Regions from separate parts of the Homo sapiens genome. Here region 2 is linked to region 1. The links are contacts of gene promoters, found by promoter capture Hi-C in human tissues and cell types (Jung and others, 2019). All regions are on one chromosome and are shown on one strand. The core of a region is centred on a gene start or on the middle of the fragment in contact, and the rest is flanking DNA. Distances in the headings are between cores, read along the strand shown.

Region 1 (7,215 bases), core at 1-2,500:
TGTGTGTCCTACTGTCCTACTAGGTCAAGGTCAGCAGCATGACGCCCATTCCTTCAACACTTCTGACGTTGGCATTTTTCTGTTTGGAATCCTCTTCCCCAGGGGTCCGCATGGCCCCCTCCACAATGCCCTCAGGTCCTGCTTACATCAGGGCATCGTTAGACTTCTTTCCTGATGCCTGCTTCAGAGACCCTGGGTCTTCCCTTTCTGACCTTTCCCTGCTCTGCTCCCTCCAGGGTTCTTGTCAACACCTGACCTCACATTCTAGATCTCTTTGCATGTCTGTCTTCCCCCCCATGACAGCGTGAGCTCCGTGAAGACAGGGACTTTTGTGATCTTGGTTGCACCCCAGTGCCTGGAACAGGCTGCAGACTCCTGTAGATGTGAGAGTTCTCAGGGCCCTCCATGCCCTGGGTGTTTTTTTTCCCCCAATTGTTGAGGTTTCTTGCTGAGGACAGTGTTTCCTGCCCTGTTTATATTTTTATTTGAGGTGTCATCTGCTATAGTTATTATTATCATTTTTCAAAATATGGTGGCCCCTGATGATTAATCAGGAAAACAGAACACTTAAGATTTTCCTACCTCTTACCAATTCCGGTCCAATACGACTTTCCTGTTTTGACCCCTGTCCCTCTCTGGTGTATTTTCCCCTATCCAGGCTCCAACAGAGCCTTCTTTCCTTTTTTTCTTTTTTCTTTTTTTTTTTTTGAGATGGAGTCTTGTACTGTCGCCCAGGCTGGCATGCGGTGGTGCTATCTCAGCTATCTGCAACTTCTGCCTCCCGGGTTCACGTGATTCTCCTGCCTCAGCCTCCCGAGTAGCTAGGATTATAGGAGCACACCACCATACCTGGTTAAATTTTTGTATTTTCAGTACAGACAGGGCTTCACTGTGTTGGCCAGACTGATCTTGAACTTCTGATCTCATGATCCACCCACCTCAGACTCCCAAAGTGCTGGCTTCTTTCATTTTTTAGAACCCCATCCTCTCCAGGAGACCCCATCCAGTCACTCTGCTTCCTCCTCCTGTCCTCTCCCAGGAAGTTCTCTCCTCACCTGTGAGCAGGAGCCCCTTCCATTTGATGCGCTGTGTGCAGGGAGGGGCTGAGAGGGTTCCCATGGTCTCTGCTGCTTGTGTGTTCTCCTCTGTGGAGATAAGCCTAGGATCCAGAAACTCTCTGAGCACGGCTGTCAGCTGTGCTGTCCTTCCTCTTTCTGTGCTGAGCCTCTTCCCAGGGCAGGAGCAATTCTCAAGCTCATGGGCAGGGTCAGGCCCAGGACACCTCTCTGTCCCCTCCTCTCTAAGTCCTGCCTCCTTGTCCCTCCTTCTGTTTCTCCTTTTGTCTGTGTTTCAGGTCCCTGGGAATTGTGGCGGCCTCTGCCTTTTTCAGCAGTGATTCTTTCACCAAACCTCAAGACACACTTTGTGCAGACACACAGACACACACACACACACACACACACACACACACAGAAGAGATACACACAGACCCACACAGTCAGACACATACCCTGCAGGTTGGGCAAGAACAGTCCTGGGCCTCAGCCTCCTGGTGTCCCCATGGCTCTGGGTCGGGGTGCAAATTAACGCCCTTTGGCCTCTTTCATCCCCATCAGGCTCTCCCCTTCAGTGCAGGAGGCTGGAGCTGTACCAGGTCCCTGTCAGAATGATGCCCCATTGTGCTGTGGGTGAGCTGTGTGTTGCCTGGTGAGAGGGACCCTTCCTTTCTCTAATCATGTCTAGCTTGGCTGCAGCTTCCAAGGATGGACATTCAGGACCTGGGTGTCCCAGAGGAAACTGTCCTTTCTGGCGGTGTGCAGGGTGAATCTCTCATGCCTCTTGGGAGGAGAGGCCTGTGCTGGTTGCTCAGTGGGGGCTGTGAGTCCCATAGTCAAAGGGACAGTTCTCTGTCAGTCTATGGCTCCCTGGGGTCTGGCGGCTGAGCTGGAGCTCATAGTTTCTCATGTTCTTCCTGACCATCTTTGATGTCCTCTCTTCTCTGCCCAGCTGACTGTCCTGTGGTCACCACACCTTCCCTGTGGTGGTGCAGGAGGAAGTGGGGAGTTACCCAGGAACCCTGCGGGACATGGCTCATTGAGATGCGGGAGGGGGAGCCTGGGACAGAGCAGGGGTTCAGAGCTGGAGAGATTCATCCCAACTTACTCCGTGGCCATGATGGGCTCAGCCCTCCATATGCTGACATACCCAGGGGTCTGTCCTGATGGTTTTGACCTGGCCAAGCTGCTGTGTGTAGAGGAGGAACAGGCAGTGGCCAGAGAGCCTGTCTGGAGGGACATTGCTCTCACCTGAGAGGGCGGGTGGGGGTGAGTTGTGTTCTGAGATCAAAGAGCAATAACATTCCCCTTCTTCCCGCAAGCACACAGGAGAGGTCTGTCTTCCCAAGGGACAGCTGGTGTTAGGTGGCCACATCCCGGATGGTGCCTGTGTGTGACCATCACACGCGCTCTGAGCCCCCAGGGTGCAGCGGGCAGGCAGGTCACAGGGTGCCTGGCTGATTCCCGGGGAGGCTGTGGGCCCTCAGGCAGCCGCTGTTCTGTGTCAGCGCTAGGCTTGGCCTGGGATGCCCCAGAGAACAGGACAGATGGAGCAGGGGTGGGCATTTAGGGAGCAGTGCCAGAAAGAGTTGATGAGGATGGAGGGAGGTCACGAGGGGAAAGCACCCGGTGTGGCATCGCGTGCACCAGCGCTGCCCTGGGAGATGCCTTTAGCTGGGCCCAGGGAAGGAGCAGGTGTGTGGGGAGGAGCTACCTGCAGGGGGAGTGGTGTTAGGTTGGCGGCCGCCAGGTCAGGGAGGAGCTGACAGTGTCCGTGTGGGGAGCATGGAGGGCGCTGAGGACTTGGGCAGAAGTGACCCTGTAGAGGGTGGACACTGCTGGGCTGTGGGTTCCGCTGAGTGAGGTTGGCATCCCCTGGGAAGACTCCAGGCTGGGAGGGACTCTGTCCCCCTCTGGTGGACAGGGAGGGAAGTGTGAACGGCAGCAATTCCAGGCCAGGATGCATGTTTTATTCCACGTGGATCTGCACAGTTCACACGAGGTCACACCTGTGTTATGTTACAGCCCCATCACCTTCCAGCCCCGTGAGTCCCAGTCTCTGTGGCTCTATGTTCACTGTTCTCCCTCTTTCACAATCAGATGTCCCAAATGCAGATTTTTGTCACCTTCTGTGAGTTTGTGTTTGTGTGCAGTAGGCGGCACTGTGTATACCCTGGGGGCAGTGATGTCTGGGGCTGAGCACTGCAGTTGGGCTTGGGAGCAGCAGGGTGGGAAGATCAATGTCAGGGGGGCAGGGACAAGTCATTTTCATTTTCTCACTCCCAGGGACCAGAACCCAGGATTCTGACTCCAGGGCAGAGTACCACACCCTGCTGGTGTCCCTGGATGTCATGATGCTCATAGTGTCATGTTGCCTTGGCATTCATTTTTTAAGGTGTAAGTTTATTTGCCTCAAATCAGAGGCAGGGCTTGGTCACCATGGCAGTTTTCAATACTGTGTCTGGTTCAAGTGGCTCCAGTTGGTGTCCAGAGATCAAATCTTAGAGACATCTCTCCTGCTTGGTGTGCTGGGCTCCCGTCTCTCCAGCTGCTTTCTTTAAACTGATAATTCTGACATTCGCCCTCACATTAAAAGTGACCACCTCTCAGTCACAGCGTGAGCTCCTGTTCCCAGTGTTTGCTGCTTGCTTTGAACACATCCATTAAAGCTCCCTGCTGGAAACCTGTCAGATAACACCCTGGACTTAATAAAGCCATTGGCTTACCGGTCTCTTCTCTCCTCCCTCCCTGGGCTCACTGACCTCTGTGTCTGTGGTCTCCAGGTGTGCCAAGTGCTTCCCAGTGTCTGTAAGTAGTAAAAATACTTACACTTTCACGTTGTGGTTGTATTGCTGTGGCCTCACATGCCATCCAGGGCCTGACATTGAGGCTGCCTTATGGGACCTGTGCTGGCTGAGCCCCTGCTGGAGCTCTTGTTTTGGGGCCTCTGGTTCTCTTGGGGACAGGAGCTTCCAGCTAACTTGATTGAAAAACTGATGCATTTCATTGAAAACACTGGGTCAGATGATGTATTCATAGGCTTCAGCTCCTATAACAAACACCTTAGCCTGGGTGAATTAAATAATAGAAATCTATTTTTCACAGTTCTGTGAATAATGTGCTATTTTAACCACTTTAAAATGCACAATCAATGAAATTAACCGCATACACCGTGTTAAATTACCATCACCAGTATTTTTCCTAGAAAATTGTTATCATTTTAAACTGAAACTTTGTATCTTTTAAACAATAACTCCCTGTATGTTCCACCCTAGGCCTTGATCACCTCTACTCTGTCTCTATGAATTTGCCTATTCTTGATGTTTCATATAAATGGAATTATACAATTATGTTATTTTGTTTCTGACACATTTCACTTAGCATAATGTTTTCCAAGTCCATGCATGTTCCAGCGGGTGTCAGAGCTTCCTTCCTCTTTATGGCAGATTATCATTCTGTTTTATGTGTCACCATATTTGTTTATTCATGTGTTGATGAACACTTGGATTGTTTTCATATTTTATCTTTTCTGAATAATGCTGCAATGAACATTCCCATGCAAGTACCTTTTTGAGTCCGTGGATTTAATTCTTTGGGTATATACCTAGGAATGGATGTTATTTCAAATGAGAATTCTATAATTAGCTTTTTGAGGAACAGCAATACTCTTTCTCCTAGCTGCTGTACTTTTTTATATTCTCACCAGCCATGTATGAGGATTCCAAATTCTACATAATGCTGCTACTTGTTATTTAACATTTTAAAAGAACGGTAGCCAGTTTTGTAGGTTTGATGTGGTGTCTCATTGCAGCTTTGACTTTGTATTTTCCTAATGACTAATGATGTTTAGTATCTTTTCATGTCCTTCTTGACTATTTGTATATCTTCTTTGAAGAAATGTATATTTGAGTCTTTTGCCCATTTATAAATTTAATGGTTTCTCCTTTTGTTACTGAGTTGTAGCTAGTTCTTTATATTATCTGGACATGAAAACTGCCTATATGTGGTTGTCAAATATTTTCTCTCATTCTGTGTCTATTAATTATTGTCTTGATAATTTTCTTTGATGTACAAAAGGCTCACATCTTGATAAAGCCCAATTTATCTTGTTTTTCTTGTTTCTCATGCTTTTGTATCATATCTAAGAATCCATTGCACATTTGAGTTCATCAATATTTACCTCTATGTCTATTTTAAGATGTTTTATAGGTCTGATATTTAACTCACTGATGAATTTTTCAGAGAATTGTTTGATATGGTGGGAGGTAGAGTTATCTAAATTCACTGTTTTGCATGTGGTTATCTAGTTGTTTCTGCATTATCATTAGAAAGGAGAATTGTTCCTCCATTAAATTTTCTTGACACCCTCTTCAAAGAGTAATTGACCATAAATGTGAGGGTTTATTTCTAGACTCTCAATTCTATCCCATTTTTCATTATGTCCAGTCTTTTGCCAGCAGCTTGTTTTAATAATTGTACTCCTTTGTGAGATTGCAAATAAGAAAGTTCAAGTCTTACAATTTCTTTTGGCAGGATTGTTTTCACTATTCAGGGGTACTTTTTTGAAAGATGGGGAGGACAAAGTTTCACAATTGGGAAAGCCGTTTCTGTCTTCTTCAGGGGGAAATTTGGGAGAAGCTTTTAAGAAACTTTATCTAAGTAGGTAAACTGTCACCACTTTATTTGCTGAAGTGCTATGTTAAAGTGTGCATTGCCTCTTGTGGAAGAATTTTGGACCCTGGAAGCACTTGCCCACGTGGTGAGAGACAGTGAATTCCACGATGAGGGGCAGAGATGATGTTGTTTTGTGATACAGTGTTGTTGGGGGAGTTGTATACATCTCAACTTCTTTATGTCTCTGTAAAGTGGGCATAGGGAGCAGCCCGCAGGGTCGGTGGGTTTTTCTCCCCGTGTGCAGAGACGTGAGATTGTAGAAATAAAGACGCAAGACAGAGAGATAAAAGAAAAGACAGCTGGGCCCGGGGGACCACTACCACCAAGTCATGGAGACAGATAGTGGCCCTTAATGCCAGGCTGTGCTGATATTTATTGGATACAAGACAAAAGGGCAGGATAATTAGTGTGAGCCATCTCCAGTGATAGGTAAGGTCACGTGGGTCACGTGTCCACTGCACAGGGGGCCCTTCCCTGCCTGGCAGCTGAGGCAGAGAGAGGGAGGAGAAAGAGAGAGAGAGCTTACAGCATTATTTCTGCTTATTAGAGACTTTTAGTACTTTCACTAATTTGCTATTGCTAACTAAACAGCAGAGCCAGGTGTACAGCATGGAACATGAAGGCGGACTAGGAGCGTGACCACTGAAGCACAGCCTCACAGGGAGATGGTCAGGCCTCTGGATAACTGCGGGTGGACCTGACTAATGTCAGGCCCTCCACAAGAGGTGGAGGAGTAGAGTCTTCTCTAAACTCCCCTGGGGAAAGGGAGACTCCCTTTCCCGGTCTGCTAAGTAGCGAGTGTTTTTCCTTGACACTGAGGCTACCACTAGACCATGGTCCGCTTGGCAATGGGCATCTTTCCAGATGCTGGCATTATCGCTAGACCAAGGAGCCCTCTAGTGGCCTTCTGTGGGCATAACAGAAGGCTCGCACTCTTGTCTTCTGGTCACTTCTCACTCTTCCCTGCTTCCCTCTTCCAACCACTTCTGAGCTACAAATGAGAAGGAAGCGATCTGATTAAACAGGTGATGAGCAGAGTCACGTTCTGAGGGGATTTGCACTTTTAAAAGGAGATTAATGACCACATCTGACAATGTCACCCTGGAATCTTATGCAGAGTGACAGGGGAGTGGGGATGAGCTCCGTTCAGGTTCAGGAAGCGAGAGTTTGGATCTGAAGTACTTTTCAGATGCTGAAGTCATAGGAGCTTGCAGTTGCTTCCTGGGTGGAGCCATAAACAAACATCTCTTCTGCTGAGTGGGGTCTGAGAAGATAGAGGGAACGGTGACCCAGGAGCTCTGGAATTATCTGGCTGTGTTACACTTGCAGGACTACACATATTTAAGTGAAAACAACATGGTTTTCATCCACCTGGCTGACCTCTTAGCCTGCTTTCCTCTTATTGTTCCCTCGAAGGCATCATTTTTTGAAAGAGAAATTTAAACTCTGTCCATCTCATCCCCTTTGGACAAAAGTTGAGTCCTTT
Region 2 (7,084 bases), core at 1,200-3,699, 55 kb before region 1:
AAAAAAAAAAAAAAAAAGACAGAAAAAAAAGAAAGGAAAAAAATGGTTAAAATGGTGAATTCTATGTTATATATATTTCACAATAATTTACAATAATTCCTATTGTTTTGCATAAAACAGCTGTAGAAAGCTTTGCAGGTCATGAACAGCACAGCTGGCCACTGGGGCTGGCGTGGGGCTAGGACCTGGGTGCATAGGGAACAGGGATGAGACACAGGCTCTTCATGCCTGCACACATATACAGATACACACAGATGGAAATTACTGAGCCATCTAAATACAACACCTATTCAAAAAATCAAACAGAAAAAGGAAATGTAATGGGGCTGAAGGATGAGGGTAGGTGGGGTGGCTGCTCAGGAGGACTGTGGAGGCCACATCGCCTAACCTTCGAGGCCTCTCTTAGCAGCTGGAGTGCATCCCGGGGACTTGGGAGCTCTGGAAAGAGGAGCAGGAAAGGGCCATGGCCGGAGGAGGCCTGAAAAAGATCATCTCTGCCACAGAGAAGAAGCTGGCTCGGATGCTGCTGGCCCCTATGGAGACAGGGAGACCCGGGGAGACAACTGTATTCATTCAAGGAGGAATGGGTGGTGATGCAAACTTGGGTGGAGGCCACAGGGTGCAGAAGACAGGACACAGCAGAGAGAGATGTAGGACATGGAAGGGACAGAAAGGAGTGACCACAGGACATAAAGGGGCAAGGAAAGTGGAAGCATGATAACATCTGCTGGGCATCCGGCTGAGGGGTTGGGTGCCTAGGGTGCCCTTCCCTAAGGGAGAACCCCAGGAGCAGATTCAGAGAAAACCGCCCAGCTCACTCCAGCAAGAATCAGAAAAGGACCGGTTAAAGGAGAGGGTAGGAAGGTCACCAAGCTCCAAGGGCCCTCATGAATCCGGCTTGGAGGCCACAGGGCCCAGGGCAAGGACAAACCACAGGCACAGGACAGCTCCGGTCAAGATCTTCTGGCTACTGCAGGAGGCAGAAACCACACCCTGCACCCTGCACTGCTGAGGCTGGCGCTGGAGTCCAGAAGCTTCTACACCAGAAGCTTCGGTCCCCCATCCCTGCTCAAAAAATTAAAACAAAAACAATAACAAATCGGTGTCATGCACCCTCTGCTTCCTGGTGCTGTTCGGGACCCTGAGTCTTTCACGGGAGCACCTGATGGGGAAAGCCTGGACCCGTGTCGGTGTCCCTCCTGCAAGGAGTGCTGGGAAAATGAACTTTCCAGCTTCCTCCTTGCGAAGGCAGAACATTCCCCATGTGTACTGGTGGCATTTAAAAACTGCAGGGCAGCCAGAGAACATGGACTGTGTTCCACCGGGAGAGTTCCTGGCGGGATGTCCCGGTGCAGAAGCCCGTCCCAAGGTGGGTATTTGAGCTGAGGAACTGAGAAGCCGGTTTCTGCCTAGAGTTAGAGATCCGAGAGGCATCAGCACATGGAAGGGAGGGAATCTACGATGCCTCGAGGGTGGGAGATCAGATGAACCAGGAGAGGCAGGGCCCGGGAGGAACCCCGGGGAGCAGCCTCCTTTAAAGCCTGGGGGAAGTAGCTTCAGAGAAGGTGGGGTAGGTTGGGTGGGGGTTGCTGGAAAAATATAATTAAGAAACAAATTTCTGCTCAGCCCAGAAACCCCCCTCACATCCATAGAAGTAAAAGAAACTTGTCTTATGATTGAGTAAGCATTAAGCCAAAATGTGATGCAATCTGCTAAGAGATGACAAAGACAGAAAGAAATCCCACCTTTGTATCCAGCCAAGCAGGTGCAACCCGTTACACACATGGTCTCCAGATAGATGGTGACTAGTTCCCAGTTGAGAGGACTCAACGGCACCATTTGTCACACGTAGTTCATCCTAAATTCACCCAGTAACTGTGTTGATTCTCTGTGTGGTTAATTGGCTTTATCCACAGGAAAAAGAAACCTCTCATCTATGACAGGAGGTAGTTTTGCAACTGGGAGTGAGATGCCCCCAGAACTGAGGTTCCTTCCTTCTCACAGAAACTGGGAGACAGGGGTGCTTTCTGCCCGGATGCCTGCCTTTCAAAGAGAGGTCTCCTATGGCCTTGAGGAGGAGAATTCTGGGTTGTGAGGCAGGCAAGATACTTATGTATGCTTTAGAAAGCTTTGCATACATCTTCAAGGGATAGAGAAAGAGTTTTCAATTACACCTCTTCTAAAAAAAATGATCTCAAAGTCCAGCCTAGGCAACACAGCAAGATCCTATCTCCACACACACAACAATAATAATAAATTTGCTGGACATGGTGGGGTGTGCGTGTAGTCCCAGCTACTCAGGAGGCTAAGGAGGGAGGATCACCTGAGCCCAGGATGTTAAGGCTGCAGTAAGCTTAGATGGCAGCACTGCACTCCAGCCTGGGTGACAGAGTGAGACTCTGTCAATGAATGAATGAATGAATAAATGAATGAATAGAAAATGCTCTGAGTGAAAAGAGGAGAGTCTCTTTATCTTTTTGCAACAGGCTAAACAAAGTTTTTAAAAATGTATATTTGCCTCACAGAGATTATTCCAGGAAAAGAAGTGGCCCTCAGTGTCAAAGGATGCAAAACTAACCTCTGAGTTCCTGGCAGGTTTAGCAATAAAGGAGGATGTTGCTGATCTCAGTACAAGCAATGTTAGAGAAAGGGGAAGATGGAAGTGGACAAGGACGAGTGAGTGGAAGGTGACAAATGGAAGCAAAGAAACGTATCCAGACCATTGAAGATGCTTGAGCGAGAAGAAAGAGGCGGTGGAGGGAATGGAAGCCCGAGGAAGTCATATGTTGCAATAAGGGGCCTCAGAGCACGTGTAGAGTGTGGAGCAGAGCCCTTGCAGAGGGGCTGTGGAAGGCTGGCAGGGTGCAGGTGGCCCCACTCTCCGTCACCCTGAGGAGTGTGTGGTCAGAGTTAAAGCTCAGTCTGTTTCTGGGATCAGGTAAGAGGTGAGCGTCCGGAGAAGACAGGCGGATCTTCAGATCCTGCAGACCTCCACCGTGCCCTCTGTCCCTCTCGACTGCTTTTTCTCCATCTCCATTGTCTGGCTCACATTGGTGTCACTTTTTCATTTCTCCCTGCCCGTCTTTTCTCTTTTCTCCTCTCTTTTTCTTAACCCTTGTACCTTTGGAAGTCCCACTAACAGAATTTAAACAGCTTTTCAAGTTGGTTTTTTGTTCCCAGAAATTGATTTTAGACTCTCCATGAATAATGTGGAAATCAAATGAGTATAAGCTGGTTCATCTCTCTGCAAATAAACAAATAAAATCTACATTCCAATGTTTCTTCTTCCAGAGTAGCCCGCACTTGATTTTTTTTTTAATTACTGTCACTTGCAATAGATTTTTAATTCCTGTAACCTGGCTACACAAATACCATGGGGCAAAAGCCTTACTTCCTGTGAGAGGAAACCAGGCTTGACTAGCCTCATGCTGGCTTTGAAGAAGTAAAATCAGGGGTTGATGAATTTGCATAGGGTAAATATCAAAGGTCAAAAGTAAACAATAGGTGGTAGAGGGAATACCCCAAATTATAAAAGAACAAACTGTTTAAGCCACAACAGAATTATCGTAGAAATAAACCACGGTCCTTCCTGCTAAAATATTCCACTTAGAATTGTAAAATATTCTTCTCAATAACTCCTGGAAGAGCCTACTCATAAATTAATGAGGCTGGGAGCAGTGGCTCACACCTCTAATTCCAGCACTTTGGGAGGCCTAGACGGGCAGATCGCTTGAGGTTAGGAGTTTGAGACCAGCCTGGCCAATATGGTGAAACCCCGTCTCTACTAAAAATACAAAAATTACCCAGGCATCGTGGCAGGCACCTGTAATCCCAGCTACTTGGGAGGCTGAGGCAGGAGAATCGCTTGAACCCAGGAGGTGGAGGTTGCAGTGAGCCAAGATGGCACCACTGCACTCCATCCTGGATGACAGAGTGAAACTCCATCTCAACCAAAAAAAAAAAAAAAAAGAAATTAATGAATGTAAGAGCATCTATGTTCCAAATGCAGTGTATTATTTTATGCAGGCTTTCACAAGCTCCAAAAGATTCACCGTGCAGAACTGGACGTTCTAGAGAAAGACCACGCCTCCTCCTGCAGGTAACTCTTCATTCAGGAAGCAGCTCTTGGCTTATCCCTGGGCTTAGTGGAATTGGAATACCTGACCATAGGACACCAAGGGCTTTAGGACCTGAGTGGCACATCGTGTCCTGGTGACATCTGAGTTACCTGGGGCGTGCACAGCAGCCTCCAGCATCCCAGGGAGAGCTGTGTATGGGGTCAGGCTCAAGCAGGTCCCAGGGCACCAGTGACCCAATGGGTGAATCAGACTCCCGTGGCACCTGCTCCTTCTGTATCTCCCTCTGCCATATATATGAGCTCATGGGAAGCACTGTAACCTCTTACAGAGGAGGAAAGTTCATGGACTTCTAGCTTCTAGAACTGTGATACAATAAACTCCTGTTGCTTATCTACTCCTCTGCAGTATTTTGTCATGGCAGCCCTAGCAAACTACTACAGGGACTGTGGGGGTTAGGATGACACCAAGCATCAAATGCCACTCCCTGTTCCATTATTATGTAATGTCCCTCTTTGTCTTTTTTAACTGCTGTTGCTTTAAAGTTAGTTTTTTTGATATAAGAATAGTTACTCCTGCTCACTTTTGTGGCCATTTGCATGGGGTGTCTTTTTCTACCCTTTTACCTTAAGTTCATGTGACACTTTATGGTTAGGGGAGTCTCTTGAGGGCAGCAGATACTTGCTTGGTGAACTATTATCAATTCTGCAATTCTGTGTCTTTTAAGTGGAGCATTTAGGCCACTTACATTCAATGTTAGTATTGAGATGTGAGGTACTGTTCCATTCATCCTGCTATTTGTTGCCTGAATACCTTGGTTTTATTCATTTATTTATTGTATTTGTGTTTTATACGTCCTGTGAGATTCATGCTCAAAGAGGTTCTGTTTTGATGTGTATCCAGGACTTGCTTCAAGATTTGGAGCTCCTTTTAGCAGTTATTGTAGTGCTGGCTTGGTAGTGGCAAATTCTCTGAGCATTTGTTTGTCTGAAAAAGACTGTTATCTTTCCTTTATTTATGAACTTTAGTTTTGCTGGATACAAAATTCTTGGCTGATAATTTTTTTTTTTTTTTTCTGAGATGGAGTCTTGTTCCGTCACCCAGGCTGGAGTGCAGTGGTGCGATCTGGGCTCATTGCAACCTTCGCCTCCTGGATTCACGCCATTCTCCTGCCTCAGCCTCCCGAGTAGCTGGGACTACAGGCGCCTGCCACCAGGCCCGGCTAATTTTTTTTGTATTTTTAGTAGAGACAGGGTTTCACCATGTTAGCCAGGATGGTCTTGATCTCCTGACCTTGTGATCCACCCGTCTTGGCCTCCCAAAGTGCTGGGACTACAAGTGTGAGCCACCGTGCCTGGCCTGATAATTTTTTTTTAAGGAGGCTGCAGGTGGGTATGCATGCTCATTTGAGGTGTTCTTCCCTTATTGAAGATTACTAAAATCACATGTGTTGAAAAGCATTTGGTATTATTTACTTAATTGATGAGTACCCATTTATTTTTACATTAATTTGATACCATGTATAAACAATATATAAACATAGGTATGGACATATACATATGTGATATGTGATACAGCATAGAACATATACTTGTGCACATAAAGATAGAGGGAGACAGAAATACTTCAGATTTTTGATTTTAAAACTTTATGCATGAACACATAAAACTCACTGTTAAAAAAAATAGCTGGATTTAAGTTGTGCTTTTGTAAATAGAAAAAGTTAACATTTATCTGAGGAAGCCCTTGCTGAGTTTTAGAGAAAGTAGGTAGTAAATTTACATCTCAAAGCACACACAAACACACACACACACACACACACACACACAGAGAGAAGGAGTTTGGGTGTGTTCAAGGAAGATTAAAAGTAGATGCCAAGGTAACACAAAAATGATAGAAATTTATAACAGGATTTTATAAGGAGACCAATTTTATTTCCATACATAGCTTTTATTTTGGTCTCTGTTTTCCAACTTTACTCCAGGAAACACACTACACAGGCTCCCTTCTTAAGTGCTGGTGGGCCACTGCACATGCAGACAGCCCACTTTAAGGGAAGAATCAGGGGAGAAGAGATGCAGACCCCAGAATTATGCCAACATACAAAAGCCTAAGTCAAAGGTCAAACCACACACTTGAAATCTCATCACCTGTTTGGCCCTGTTTTAAGTGTGCTTTACTTTCTTTAATTTCTGCTCTAAAGCTTTTAAATAAACTTTCACTCCTGCTCTAAAATTTGCCTAAGTCTCTTCTTCTGCCTTATGACACTTAGTTGAATTCTTTCTTCTGAAGAAGCAAGAATTGAGGCTGCTACAGACTTGTACAGATTTGCTGCCATTAATATAGTTTAGTGCCATTCTACATGATAGAATATATATATTCTTATATTTATATATATATATATATATAAAATTTATGTATTCATAGAGGCCTTGAATCTACATTCTTGCTGCACTTTATGTAAACAATCCAGGTATAAGACTAAAACTTATTTTGGAAATATATTGGTCCCATATGATTTCTATTTCATAAAAATGGGAGACAGGAGGGGGAAAATTATTTTTCAGAAGGAAACAACAGAAAAATGGTTATTACATTTTAGATCTGTTCATTTTTTTTAAATTTTGTTATTTACCTACAATTTGGACTGAATCCTAAATTTTTTCCTGGCTACAAATTTCAAAACTAATGGTTTCAGAATTTTCTTCCATTTTTCTTCCATTTTGGTATATTATAAATTAAAACTGTGCTTTTTAAATTTTTATCTTTTTTTAATTACACTTTTAAGTTCTGGGATACATGTGCAGAACCTGCAGGTTTGTTACATAGGTATACATGTGTCATGGTGTTTTGCTGCACCCATTAACCCATCATCTACCTTAGGTATTTCTCCTAATGCTATCCCTCCCCTAGTCCCCCACCCCTCAACAGGCCCCAGTGTGTGATATTCCCCTCCCTGTGTCCATGTGTTCTCATTGTTCAACTCCCACTTTTGAGTGAGAACATGC

Evidence for each region. The method cuts DNA at HindIII sites, captures the fragments that hold promoters and counts their contacts. A contact is called where the count stands out against the background at its distance.
Region 2: a contact is called between a fragment that was not itself captured here and the fragment with the promoter of PSG1 in region 1, in 2 of the 25 tissues and cell types used here (small bowel and stomach).

What each region holds. Positions count from the first base shown.
Region 1 is chr19:42,878,463-42,885,677 of GRCh38, forward strand. PSG1 (pregnancy specific beta-1-glycoprotein 1) reads right to left here and starts at 1,251. Exons shown (of 6, transcript NM_001184825.2): 1 at 1,056-1,251. The coding sequence starts at 1,119. The HindIII fragment of the contact is 8,814 bases long and covers 1-6,469 here.
Region 2 is chr19:42,822,407-42,829,490 of GRCh38, forward strand. PSG8-AS1 (PSG8 antisense RNA 1) reads left to right here. Exons shown (of 4, transcript NR_036584.1): 2 at 407-1,369; 3 at 2,526-2,938; 4 at 4,027-4,472. Among named protein-coding and RNA genes, the nearest start is that of PSG8-AS1, 4.1 kb to the left of the region's middle. The HindIII fragment of the contact is 3,734 bases long and covers 583-4,316 here.